Linked DNA regions of Homo sapiens: region 1 is linked to region 2. Evidence: promoter capture Hi-C in 16 types of primary human blood cells and fetal thymus (Javierre and others, 2016). All regions are on one chromosome and are shown on one strand. The core of a region is centred on a gene start or on the middle of the fragment in contact, and the rest is flanking DNA. Distances in the headings are between cores, read along the strand shown. Region 1 overlaps LOC105369705 (a long non-coding RNA gene). Region 2 holds the start of BHLHE41 (basic helix-loop-helix family member e41).

Evidence for each region. Contacts are between HindIII fragments. The CHiCAGO score rates a contact against its expected background, and 5 or more counts as called.
Region 1: a fragment that was not itself captured here is called in contact with the fragment with the promoter of BHLHE41 in region 2 in 1 of 17 cell types (M2 macrophages); the score reaches 6.6 in M2 macrophages.

The regions. Positions count from the first base shown.
Region 1 is chr12:26,304,250-26,311,155 of GRCh38, forward strand. LOC105369705 (a long non-coding RNA gene) reads left to right here. Exons shown (of 6, transcript XR_007063249.1): 6 at 6,127-6,206. Among named protein-coding and RNA genes, the nearest start is that of ITPR2-AS2, 11 kb to the right of the region's middle. The HindIII fragment of the contact is 2,009 bases long and covers 1,095-3,103 here.
Region 2 is chr12:26,121,968-26,128,425 of GRCh38, forward strand. BHLHE41 (basic helix-loop-helix family member e41) reads right to left here and starts at 3,070. Exons shown (of 5, transcript NM_030762.3): 1 at 2,751-3,070; 2 at 2,552-2,615; 3 at 2,105-2,212; 4 at 1,663-1,774; 5 at 1-1,201. The coding sequence starts at 2,812. The coding sequence ends at 99. It also overlaps a transcript of SSPN not described here. RefSeq lists a silencer at 4,482-4,651. The HindIII fragment of the contact is 3,679 bases long and covers 1,715-5,393 here.

The DNA.
Region 1 (6,906 bases), core at 849-3,348, 180 kb after region 2:
GTCCAACATAACAGGGTTAGAAGGTCACTTTTCTGCATGTTTCTACATTATTTTCAAAACTGCCATTCATCTGCGTTTTCAAATAAATATCAACAAAATTACTTTTGTTAGCCTGTAGTTACTTTGCTATCCTACAGCCTTAGTCACATGTAAGCAGATTACTAGAGCAGCATGTGTTTCAAATCTCTTCCTGGGAAGGAGTCAACAGGTGGAAAAACAAATGCTAAGCAAACCATCTAGAAGACTCCTTCTCAAGGCTTTAAATGCAAAACAATGTGGATAGGACACATGGATATATCGTGCCATCTTCTGCTTTAGAAAATGATTACTTTGCACCTGTGACCCATTTACTAAACCTCAAAACTCTTGGTTTAAGATATGTTGTTTTGTAATTAAGCTTTTGAAATGCACATTTGTTGGCTTTTGTCCTGTGCTTGTTATTATCTGAACTATGACCAATTATAAATACTAAGCTATTTAGAGTCTTAAAAACAAATGGATATCTATACTTCGTGATTTACACAAATATTAACTTTATTAGCTACAAAAAATTATAAATTGGACTTTATATAAAATTAAAACCTGTTCTTCAAAAAAGAAAATAAAACACAAGCCACAAACAGGAGAAAATATTTTCAATGCACATATCTGGAAAAGAACTTGTAACCAGAGTATAGTAAAAGCTCTTACAACTCAGCAGTAAGAAGATAAAACAAAAATAGGCAAAATGTGAATAAAGAGTTCATGAAAGAAGAGCTAAATGGCAAATAATCACATGAAAAGATCTTCAACATCATTAATCATCAGAGAAATGAAAATAAATACCATGAAATATTGTATACCCATTATAATTGCTAAAAGTAAAAGGACTGAAAATTCCAACTGTTGGAGAATTTGGAACAACTGGCACTCTTGCAAAATAGTACAGCAACTTTGGAAAACAGTTTGGCAAATTTCTAAATGTTAAATATAAACTTTCCAAACCACTCAGCAATTCTGTTCCTAGATATCTACTCACAAGACAAAAAGTGCATGTAAAAATAAATAAATAAATAACTTATAGACAAATATTTATAGCAACTTTATTTGTAAAAAGCTTGGAAAACAACACAAATCACCAACTACAAATAAATAAACAAATACATTGGGGTATTTCCATGTAATGAAATTCTTAGCAGTAGAAAGAAACAAACTACTGATACATAGAACAACATGGATAAACATCAAATACATTATTCTACGCAAAATAGTCCATATATAAGAGATTATATACATATGATTGCATTTCTAAGAATTTATAGAACTGGCAAAACTAATCTATGATGATAGAAATCAGATCAGTGATTGGCTGAAATCAGATCAGTGGTTGCCTGAGAGCTGTGAAGAGGGGACAGGAGATCATAAAGGGACACAAAATAATTTTCTGAAGAGATGAAAATAGTCTACATCTTAAATGGGAAGTTTGTTATATGTGTGTGTATATATATATGTGTGTGTGTGTGTGTGTGTGTGTGTGTGTGTCTGTGTGTGTATGTATGTGTGTGTGTGTGTGTGTGTGTGTGTGTCAAAAGTTCTTAACTTATAAGACTGCAATACAATAGCTTTTGAGCAACTAATGGGTCAAAGAAGAAATCAAAAGGAAAATTAGAAAACATCTTGAGACAAACCGAAAACACAATATACCAAACTAATTAGATGCAGCAAAAGCATTTCTAATAAATACCTACATTAAAAAAGAAAAAATATCTCTAACTTTACACCTCAACAAACTAGAAGAAGAACAAACTAAGCCCAAAGTTAACAGAAGGAGTAAATAATAAATATTACAGCAGAAATTAATGAAATATATAATAGAAAAGCAACAGAAAAATAATCATAACCAAGAGTTGGATTTTTTTAAGTTGACAAACCTTTAGCTAGACTAAGAAAAAAGAGACAGAATTCAAATAAAATCAGAAGTAAAAGAGGAAACATTACAACTGATGCCACAGGAATAAAAAGGATCATAAGGGACTATTATGAATGCCAACAAACTGGATAATCTTGAAGAAATGGATAAATTCCTAGACATATAACCTACCAAACGTGCATCACGAAGAAGTATAAAGTCTGAACAGGCCATAACTAATAAGGAGATTGAATCGGCATCCTAGTCCATTTTGTGTTGCTACAACAGAATACCTGAAACTGGGTAATTTATAAAGAAAAGAAATTTATTTGGCTCACAATTCTGGAGGCTGGGAAGTCCAAGAGCATGCTGTTGGCATCTTGGAGGGCCTTAGTGCTGCATTATCCCATGGTGGAACTCAGAAGGGTAAGAGGGTGAAAGTAAATAGAAAGAAGCCAAACTCATCCCTTTATCAGGAACCAACTTCTATGATAAATAACCCATTCCTGTGATAAAGCTGATGCCTTTATCCCATTCATGAAGGCAGAGCCTTCATGCCCTAATCACCCCTTAAAGGCCCTACCTCTCAACATTGTTGCATTGGGGATTAAGTTTCTAACACATGAACTTTGGGGTACACACTCAAGCCATAGCAGTCAGTAATCAAAAACCTCCCAACAAAGAAAATTCCAGGTCCAGATGGCTTCACTGGTGAATTCTACCAAACATTTAAAGAAGAATTGATGCCAATTTTTCTCAAACTCTTTTCAAAAATTGAAAAGGAAGGAACACTTCCAAACTCATTTTTATGAACCCAGCAAAACCTCGATACCAAAGCTAAACAAAGACACTATACGAAAACTATAGGCTAATAGTCCTGATGAACATACATACAAAAATCTTCAACAAAATGCCAGCAAACTAATTCAACAGCATATTAAAAGTGTCACACACCATGTCCAAGTGGGATTTATCCCTGGGATGCAAGGATGGATAAATATATGAAAATTAATTAATGCGATACATCACATTAACAGAATAAAGGATAAAATCACATGACTATCTCAATAGATGCAGAAGAATTCGATAAAATTCAACACATTTTCATGATAAAAACTCTCAACAAACTAGGAATAGGAAGTAAGTACCTCAACATAATAAATGTTACATACAGAAAGCTCATAGCTAACATCATATTCAGTGGTGAAAACTGAAAGCTTTTCCACTAAGATCAGAAACAAGGCATGGATACCCAGTCCTTTCTATTCAACAGAGTACTGGAAGTCCTAGCCAGAGCAACCAGGCAAGAAAAAGAAACAAAAGGTAACCAAATTAGAAAGGAATAAGTAAAATTGTCCCTATTTGCAGATGACATGATTTTATATAGAAAAGCCCAAAGACTCCACTAAAAAACTGTTACAACTAATAAATTGAGTAAAGTTGTAAAATACAAAATTAACATACAAAAATCAATTACATTTCTATACACTAATAATGAACTGTCTGAGAAATTAGCAATCTCATTTACAATAACATAAAAAATATTTTTAGGAATGAAATTAACTAGGGAAGTATATCCTGAAAACTACAAAACATTGATAAAAGAAATTAAAGAAGACCAAACAAATGGAAAGACATCCTACATTCATGGATTTGAAGACTTAATATTGTTAAAATGTCCCCAAACGATCTATAGATCAATGCAATTCCTGTCAAAATCCCAATGGCATTTTTTATAGAAATAGAAAAAAATACCCAATTCCACAATTCACATGGAGCCACAAAAGAACCTGAACAGTCAATGCAATCTTGAAAACTAACAAAGGTGGAGGCATCACAGTTTCTGATTTCAAAATATAACACAAAGTTATAGTAATCAAAACAGTGTGGTGGTGGGATAAAGACAGAAATATAGACGAGTTACCCAGAAGTAAACCCACACATATATGGTCAACTGATCTTTAACAATGATGTCAACAATACACAATGGGGAAAGGATAGTCTCTTCAACAAGTGGTGTTGAGAAAACTGGATATCCACATGCAAAATAATAAAATTGGACCTTTATTTTATACCATACACAAAAATCAACTCAAAATGGATTAAAGCCTTAAAGGTAAGACCTGGAACTATAAAACCCCTAGAGGAAAACATAGGGAGAAATCTTCATGACGTTGGCCTTGACAATGATTTTGTGGATATGACACCAAAAAAAGCATAGGTAACAAAGCAAAATAGACAAGTGGGACTGCCTCAAACTAAAAAGCTTCTACCAGAAAAGAAACAATCAACAGAGTGAAAAGACATCCTATAAAATGGGGAAATATTTGCAAACCATATTTCTGATAAAGGGTTAATTTCCAAAATATGTAAGAAGACTTATATATAAGAAACTCCTATAACACAACAGTAAAAAAACTAGTAACCTGCTTAAATAATTGGGCTAAAGACTTGAATACACATTTTTCCAAAGTGGACATACAAATGGCCAACAAGTTTATGAAAAGATGCCCAGTCACTAGTCATCAGGGAAATGCAAATATAAACCACCATGAGATATCACCTCACACTTGTTAGGATGGCTATTATAAAAATACACACACACACACACACACACAAAGACAACACATGTTGATAAAATGTAAAGAAATTTGAATCCTTATACAGTGTTGGAGGGGAATGCAAAATGATGCTGCCACTATGACAAACAGCATGGAGATTTTTCAAAATATTAAAAATAGAACTAGCATAGGATTCAGCAAACCCACTTCTGGGTATTTGTCCAAAAGAACTGAAGTCAGGATGTCAAAGAGATATTACCATTCCCATATTCATTGCAGCACTATTTATAATCGCCAAGCTGTGGAAATAAAAACTAAGTGTTCACTGACAGATTAATGGATTTTTAACAATGTCATATAGACATGTAATAGAATACTATTTAGTTATACAAAAGAAGGAAAGCCTGCAACATGGAACAACATGTATAAATGTTGAGGACATTATAGTAAGTGAAATGAGCCAGTCAGAAAAGGACAAATACTGCATAATTGCACTTATATGAAGCGTCTAAAATAGGCAAACTCATAGAAACAGAGGGTGAATAGTTATTGTCAGGGGCGGGGGGATGGGGAAAATGGAAAGTTGCTAATCAATAGGCAAAATATTTTTATTTTTATTTTTATTTTTTTGAGATGGAGTCTCACTCTGTCACCCAGATTGGAGTCCAGTGGCACGATCTTAGCTCACTGCAACCTCCACCTTCTGGGTTCAAGTGATTCTCCTGCCTTAGCCTCCTGAGTAGCTGGGACTACAGGTGTGCACCACCACACCCAGCTAATATTTTTTGTATTTTTAATAGAGACGGGGTTTCACCGTGTTGGTCAGACTGGTCTCGAACTCCAGATCTCAAATGATCCTCCCGCCTCGGGCTCCCAAAGTGCTGGGATTACAGGAGTGAGCCACTGAGCCTGGCCACAATATTTCAATTATACAGGATACACAACTTTGTGTCTATAGATAGCATTACTGTATTTTACATTTAAAAGTCTATTAAGAGGGCAGATTTCATGCCAAGTGTTCTCATCACAATAAAAAAAAATGAAAACAACACCAATGATAAAAAGGCGGTAGATAAATAAATACCCCAGTTTCCTCATCTATCAATCAGCTGGGGTAATTCTGTAGTATGGTCTACACTGTCTCCCAGTGTTCTGAAATGGGATTAAGCCTTTTTCCCCTAGGATAATCACAATAATTCACAATTTATTGGTTTCCTTCACGGTCCCATTTCGCTTCCCACTCCTTCTCTGGTACTCTTGACTACAATAAATCATTTTCCCTGTAAAGAACGTAGTCTTTTTATTCCCTCAAAAAATATTTGGGATGCTTTTGATACTGATTTAATTAATTAATCAATTATATTACTTCATTATGAAGTTGCTCTTTGGAATAATTATCATAAAAACATAACATGGGTTCTGTCAGTCTACACATTTTAGGATGATTTTACCAGCATGAATGATAATAAAGGTTAAGATAATAAAAAAGTCATCAAATTGTATACTTACATATGTAAACACTATTGTATATAACATAATTCAGTAAATTTGATTTTTATATGGATAGACACAATATTAAATGTGTTGACATATGTATATGAACTTAATCAGAGATTAACTTAAGAATTATGTTCAAGGATGTTTCTCACTGCTATTTTTTTATTATTATACTTTAAGTTTTCAGATACATGTGCAGATCCTGCTGGTTTGTTTCATAGATATACATGTGGCACAGTGGTTTGCTGCACCCATCAACCCATCATCTAGGTTTTAAGCCCTGCATGCATTAGGTATTTCTCCTACTGCTATCCCTTCCTTTGCCCCCCACCCCGATAGGCCCTGGTGTGTGATGTTCCCCTCCCTGTGTCCATGTGTTCTTATTGTTCAACTCCCACTTAGGAGTGAGAACATGCAGTGTTTGGTTTTCTGTTCCTGTGTTAGTTTGATGAGAATGATGGTTTCCAGCTTCATCCGTGTCCCTGCAAAAGACATGTTATCCTTTTTTATGGCCGCATAGTATTCCATGGTGTATATATGCCACATTTTCTTTGTCCAGTCTATCATCGATGGGCATTTGGGTTGGTTCCAAGTCTTTGCTATTGTAAACAGCGCTGCAATAAACATACGTGTGCACATGTCTTTATAGTAGAATGATTTATAATGCTTTGGGTATATACCCAGTAATGGGATTGCTAGGTCAAATGGTAATTCCAGCTCTAGTCCTTCAGGAATCACCACACTGTCTTCCACAATGGTTGAACTAATTTATACTCCCATCAACAGTGTAAAAGTGTTACTGTTTCTTCACATGCTCACCAGCATCTGTTGTTTCCTGACTTTTTAATGATTACCATTCTAACTGGTGTGAGATGGTATCTCATTGTAGTTTTGATTGCATTTCTCTAATGACCAGTGATGATGAGCCTTTTTTCAGGTGTTTGTTGGCTGCATAAATGT
Region 2 (6,458 bases), core at 1,820-4,319:
CCTTAAGGGTATTTTAACTTCTCACTCTGCTTGAACCTCCTTAAGGGTATTTTAACTTCTCACTCTGCTTGAACCTCCGTCCTTCGGGACGCAAGGATTCAGGGAGCTTCCTTTCCTGGCTGCGAGGGATCTTCCTGAGCAGAGCTCTCCGGGTTCCCCGGCTCGCGGGGCCCGGCGAAGGGCAGGTGGGTGCGGCCGTGCGGGTGCTGGGGGTGCGGCGCCCCAAGGGGCGCCACCTCGTGCGGCAGGAGGGTCGCGGCGGCGGCGCCCGCCTTCTCGGGAGGGGGCGACAACACCGAGGACAGGCAGGGGAACGCGGCGGCGGCGGCGGCAGCGGCGGCGGCGGCTGCCGCGGCTGCCGCCGGGGCGGGGATGCCGGGGTATAGCAGCGGGAACGGGGCGGCAGCCGCCGCCGGGTACAGATACTTCTCCAGGCCGCTCTTGTCCAGGAAGGGCTGCACGTAGGCGGCAGCTGCAGAAGGCGAGAGGAAGCAGAAGGGCAGGCAGAAGGGGGCCGCGGCGGCCGCGGGCTGCGGGAAGGGCGCGCCTCCGCCTCCGCCGAACGCCACCAGCGAGCTGAGCAGGGCGGCGTCGGGTCTCAGCAGCGCGGCCGCGGCGGCAGGGTCGGGCCCCAGAAGCGCGGCTGCCGCCGCCGCCGCGCCGCCCCCCGGGCCGCCGCCGCTGCCGCCGCCGCGGGAATCCAGCTTCATCCTCTTGGGCGCCGGCGAGTCCTCCCCGGGAGGCTCCTGCTTGATGGTGACGCGGCTCGCCCCCGCGCCTTTGCCTTTCTCGCGGTCCGGCCGGGCCTCGGCTTCGCCGCCGTAGCCGCTGTCGGTGTCCGTGTCGTTCTCGGCGGCGAGCTCGGCGCTGGGCTGAGTCCGCTGGATGACGGGCACGCAGTAGGCGAGGGGCTCCAGCTTCTGCCCCGCGCGCTCCAGGCAGGGGGCGGCCGCGGACCCGGCGGCCGAGGGAGCGCCGGTGCCTTTGCTCAGAGGGACCTGTTGAGTCAACAGCTGCGGGGTGGGCAAGAACTGGGTGGCCACGGCGTGCAAGTGGTTGATCAGCTGGACACACCGCGGCTCCCTGGGTGTCCAGCTCTCAAACCGGGAGAGGTATTGCAAGACTTCTTTGGCGCATGTTTGAAATCCCGAGTGGAACGCATCCAAGTCGGACTGAATGGGCGATTTCAGAGATCGCTCCCCTAGGATGAGGAAGGGATGGGGGTGGGGGACGGAGGAGTGGAGGCAAGAAGAAACATACCCACGTTAAAACATCTGCTTATCACGTGGGCCCTGCATCGACTAAAGTGATCTCGGTTTTTCCCCAGTATTCAAGTGATATAATCCACCAGTTGACGAGAGAAGCGGGGTGGCGGAGGTGCGGAGCGGGGAGAGGGCGCTCTCCTCCCAGCTGAAAACCAAAGTGGAGCGGGTGCAACCGCCACTTTAAATCCTGATTCCTCCGAGTTCTGCTGAAAGCCTCTAGGATGCTTCGGGAAATGGGCTCGTTCCAATGAAGGGAAAGTATAAGCAATTTAACAAATGAGAGGGAACCCATGAGCCCACGGAAAGAGATGGGGTGCGGGTGAGGGAGTCCTGACACTGCTCCCCTGTGGGCTGCCCCGCTTCATCAGGGTAGGCTGGCCTCCCTGAACTGACTTACCATTCTGTAAAGCAATTATCTTCTGATGCTGTTGCTCGGTTAAGGCGGTTAAAGCTTTTAAGTGTTTCAAAGTTAATTCCAAGACTACAGCTTTCTCCAGATGTCCCAGAGTCTGCAGTGGTGCAAAAAAGAAACGGGCACTTGGTTACTTAAAAACACACATTTGGCTTAATTGGCTGTCCATTCAGCACAGCAATTTAAGCAAACACTTTGAAAGAAGTACTGTTCTTTTACTTCTTGAGCTTTCCACAAGACAGGTTATAAATGATTTCTTGCCTTCAGCTGGGAGCACCTACTCCAGTTTGCGGGAAACTCTGTACGGTATAGCACAAGTTTTAAGTCAGGAACTTATATTTACATTTATTCTTATATTTTCTGGGAGTCGCACCAGACTATTAACACGCCCTTGGAGAGCAGCAAAGAATGAAAATGTGCATCTTACTGTCAATTTCAGATGTTCAGGCAGTAAATCTTTCAGCTGAGCAATGCATTCATTAATTCGGTCTCTTCTTTTCTTTTCTATTAATCTGTGCGGTAATTTGTAGGTATCCTTAATATATGAGAGTCATGGAAAAGAGAAAACAGTAAGCGAAACATTCACTTATTGGATATTACCCTCGTCTGCCCCCCCCGCCCCCCCACCATAAAACATACTATGTGATAAACTACACCCAAGAAACCTCTTTCCTCTGGACTGTTCTGCAATGCAATTTAAATTCAGGTATGATGTTTAATATCCCCCTGAGAGTACCCAGCAAGCCACTTAAAATTCACAGTTGGGGAAGCTCAGGGGCTGGAATATATTTGCGGGCAGAGCTTCACTGTGAAATCAATGGCTCTAATTAACTACCCATGCAGGTTATGAGGAATATCGGGAACTTACACTTACCTTGGTGTCGTCTCGTTTCATGCTCCTTTTGGGTTTACACATATACAAAGAGGAATAGTCCAGTCTGCAAAACAGAAATCAGCATCAGGCACCCATTCGGGGAGGGGCTCTGCCCTCGCCAGCTCCATACCACTTTCTGGAGAAGAAAAAAATCAAACCAAAGCCTAGACAGATATTCGCAAGGGTGCGTGCACCTTACCCTATAAAATCTCTATGTTCCAGTAACTGTCTCTCTTGCAAATGAGGAATTCCTTCGTCCATGTTCAACTGCTGTTCGTTTCCTCTGTTTCGATTTTTGGGGCTCTGTACAATAATCTGTGGGACGGTAGGCTTGGGAGACCTTGGGGGGATCTGTGCGTCTCCAGTCTCTCTCTCGCTCTCCCTCTTCAGTGCAGTGTTGAAAGTGTGAAGCAGTTGGTCCCCCCCCTCCACCGCGCTCGCACACACACACGCACACACACGCACACTCGCGCCGGCCCCACTGCGCTGGTAGTTTGCTCTCACTCCAGGCAGTGTTTGGCCACAGGGCACGCGCGTCGCCGGCCAGACCAGCACCCAGCTCACGTGCGGAACGTACCATCCGCGGTCCAGCCCGGAGGGGGGCGGGGGAGGAGGGGCCGGGCCGGGCGGGGGCGTCGGGAGAAGGCGGCGAGAGAAGGCGAACGGCAGGAGGGGGCGGGGACACCTGATCAGGGCCACCGGAAAGGAAAAACAACTTCGGCCAAGCTATTCATCTTCCCAAAGGCGATGCAGTCGGCAGGAGGAGGGGGGAGTGGGGGTGCAGGGGTGCGGGGCAGCCTGAGCTTCCTTGGCTCCAAAATGCGACTCCCTGGGTTCGTCCGTTGTTACGGTGCAGGAATGTGAACGTGGCTTTTTGCTTTTCCACCGATTGTGCTGTTGGTTTGAACCATAGAAAGGAAGTGAAAAGAGAATTCGCGGTGGGTAAACTTGAGTCCCAAAGGAAATTTTGGAGACTTGTTTGCTCACTGATCAGTGGCCTGGAGGGACTCCTTGGCGCTGGGTGGAGAGGTTGCCTCGAGAAGAAGCAACTTGCAATCCGCTCCTTGAAGGATTTAAGATACATGAAAACGTTGTCACTGGGTCCGAATGTCGCAATCCAAGTGTCTTTCGGTGACACGGCGTCCCTGGGCCAACTAAACTTCCCCGCAGCAGCCGGAATTGCGGTGCCACTAATCACAGCAGCAGATGACGACGTTTGGGGCCGCGTGTGCTCCTGGAGGAACGCGGCGGGGAGCGAGCCGGGGTTGAGTGGGGGCTGGGAAGGGAGAAGGGGGTGGCACGAGAGGGGGTGGCACGAGAGGGGCTACCACAGAAAAGCTATGCAGCATTTATCACCCGCCCGCTCAACTCTGCCGCGTTCTGAGCCTCCGGTGACGCTACGTGCTTTCCCCATCCCCCCGCCCCCCCGCGCGATAAGAGACGCCCGGAGTGTGCAGAGCCCACGTTTACTACCGCTGGCACCTCCAAAGCCTCCCTCCTTAATCCGGTCTCAAACGGGTACCAGCACAGGGCCAGCAACGTGATCCGACCTGCCGCTGCTGCCACATCACTGCTCGGGGAACCCGTGCGCGCGCGCGCTCGCCCTGCAGCCGCGGCGCTCGGCGCCGGGAATCACAGGCCAGCAAGAGCCGGGTTACCTTTCCCCAGAGCCACCCTGGGAGCATGACTCACTGCTAGTGAGAGTTACCGGGAGGTGCCCGGGGATGCGCACTGCCCACGCCGCCCTGCCAGCCCAGGGGAAGGCATGTCCTGAGGGACTCCCAGGGGTGGGATGGAGGCTATATATATATTTCTCTAGATATACATAAAGACATAGAGAAAAAAACCAAGGTTTTTCCTGCACAGAGAGGGATATTTACATTCTCCCCGGGGTGATCTCTGAAACGTTGATTATTGCCGGTGATAAGTGAACCGAGGGGAGAAGAACGCCAAAGGTACATGCACCAGGGCGCAGCAGGGACTGGGGCGCCCGCTACGTGTCCCCCGGCCCGCCCCGCCGGGCACGGGTTCCGGGGACGGATCTGGGTCGCGGGAAGCGGCGGCTGGGAGGAGGTCACGTGTCTGCGGGAGTCGCGTCTCCTCCCCGACTCCAGGAGCAGCCCGGGCCGCGGCGGCCGCTCGCGCTGCTGCAGTCTCCGGAGTCCTGGGCGGAGACGCGCACTGCGTCTGGCTTCGTGACTCGGGCGGCGGCGGCGGCCCAGGATCACCCCGGCGTGAGGAGACGCTCGCGGTCCGTTCAGTTCATCTGTTTAGAGGGCCTTTTAAGGTCTCTCGACTTCCTCAAATAGAGGAACGTATTTTGCACCAAACAGGCAATTTAATCACGATGGTTCTTAATTTAAAAAGTATTTTTAAAATGCTGACTTTATTTTAAATCTCGGTCCGACCTCTCTCCTATTTCCAAAAGGTTAGGTAATTAAGACCCTTCGATGGGGAGGGCACGTTGGAGCCCTAAAAGCGACCTATTCCTGCAGTACTGTATCATTTTTACCTCTTTTTAATTGACTAAAAATGGGAATGCCGTTAGGTGAATAATTTAAAAATTAAAACACCAGGTCCCCTTCTAGATTTCTGAATGTTTGGAGTAGAAAGGGGATGTAAATATTTGCTCCAGAGCTAAATTTCACTTGAAAAGGATGACTGGTTAGGGAAAATGAAATAAAGACAAGATCATTGCATTTTGGCCTCGTCGGGCTAAAAACACAAGGCAGACATCTGACCAGGGCAAACCTTAGAAGCTAAGTCTGGGGCAGAGATTAAATGCAAGTTGAAATAGGAGGAACACGATCAGGAGCCTTGAGGCTCAAAGGTGGGTTAAATAAGCTTGCAGCACCCCATAATTTAAAGGGACAAAAAGCTGCAAATGACACATGAAGCTTTTTTCTGTTATCTCTTTGAGGCTCCTCTCTCCCCCCATCCTTTCTGCCCCAAGCTTCCCCACTTCCGTACCCTTTTCCCGTGATACCTACTCAAACTGCAAATGGGGTCTTTTCCCAATTTTTATCTCCTTTGTTGTTCTTGATCCCCTTTTCCTCTTCTTTTCTGTCTTTCCTTTACATATTCACCTTTTAACTCATGTTTCCCTTTTTCATTTCTTCTTTATCTTCCTTTCCCTTATGTTCTCTGTCTACCTTTTCCCTGTTAAATGCCAGCTTTTGCCATTTCTCTGTAGTTCTGTCAATCTCCTGTTTGCTTTTTGCCCTTTTTTTTCTTTGATCTTTCACCCTGGTGACTCTTCTTGGTTACCCACTTCCCTTAAACTTGAATCCCATTCCTGTTCTTTCTCAAACTCTTGGCTTCTGGAATATTGGGCATAGTTTGATGCCTCTGAATATCCCTTTGCGCAAGAAGGGTGTAACAATAGCTAACAACTATATAGCCTTTAAGATTAGAGTACCAGACTGCATTCAAAGAGCTTTTTATGTATTAAGTCATTAATCATTTCCACAACCCTCTAAGGTAGATACTATTATTGTTTCCATTCTACAGATGAGAAAATGCTTACAAAGTGAGATTGCAAAATATTTCCAAGGTCCCAGAGCCAGGATTTAAGCCCAGACAGTGGGTTCGAGAGTCTGGACCCTGGACGACTCTTACACCTCAATGTGAATAGTGAGTGGTAAGGTATAAGTGTTAACTAGCTGCTTCAGGGATGTTTTTCTATTTACCAGTATAAGTGTGCACATTTGTGTGTGTGTGTGAATGAAATTGTGTGGGGAGTTTTGCAAGAGAGATGGAAAAGGGAGAGGTGTTAGCATTGGAGCTGATGACAGAGATAAGAAAAGCTATGGCAAGAAGAGAGGCAGTCTTTTGCCATGTCAGTGAGTCATTCAGTTGGCATCTAGCTTCAAATTTATTGATTTAAATCCAAATATCCTAATTAACT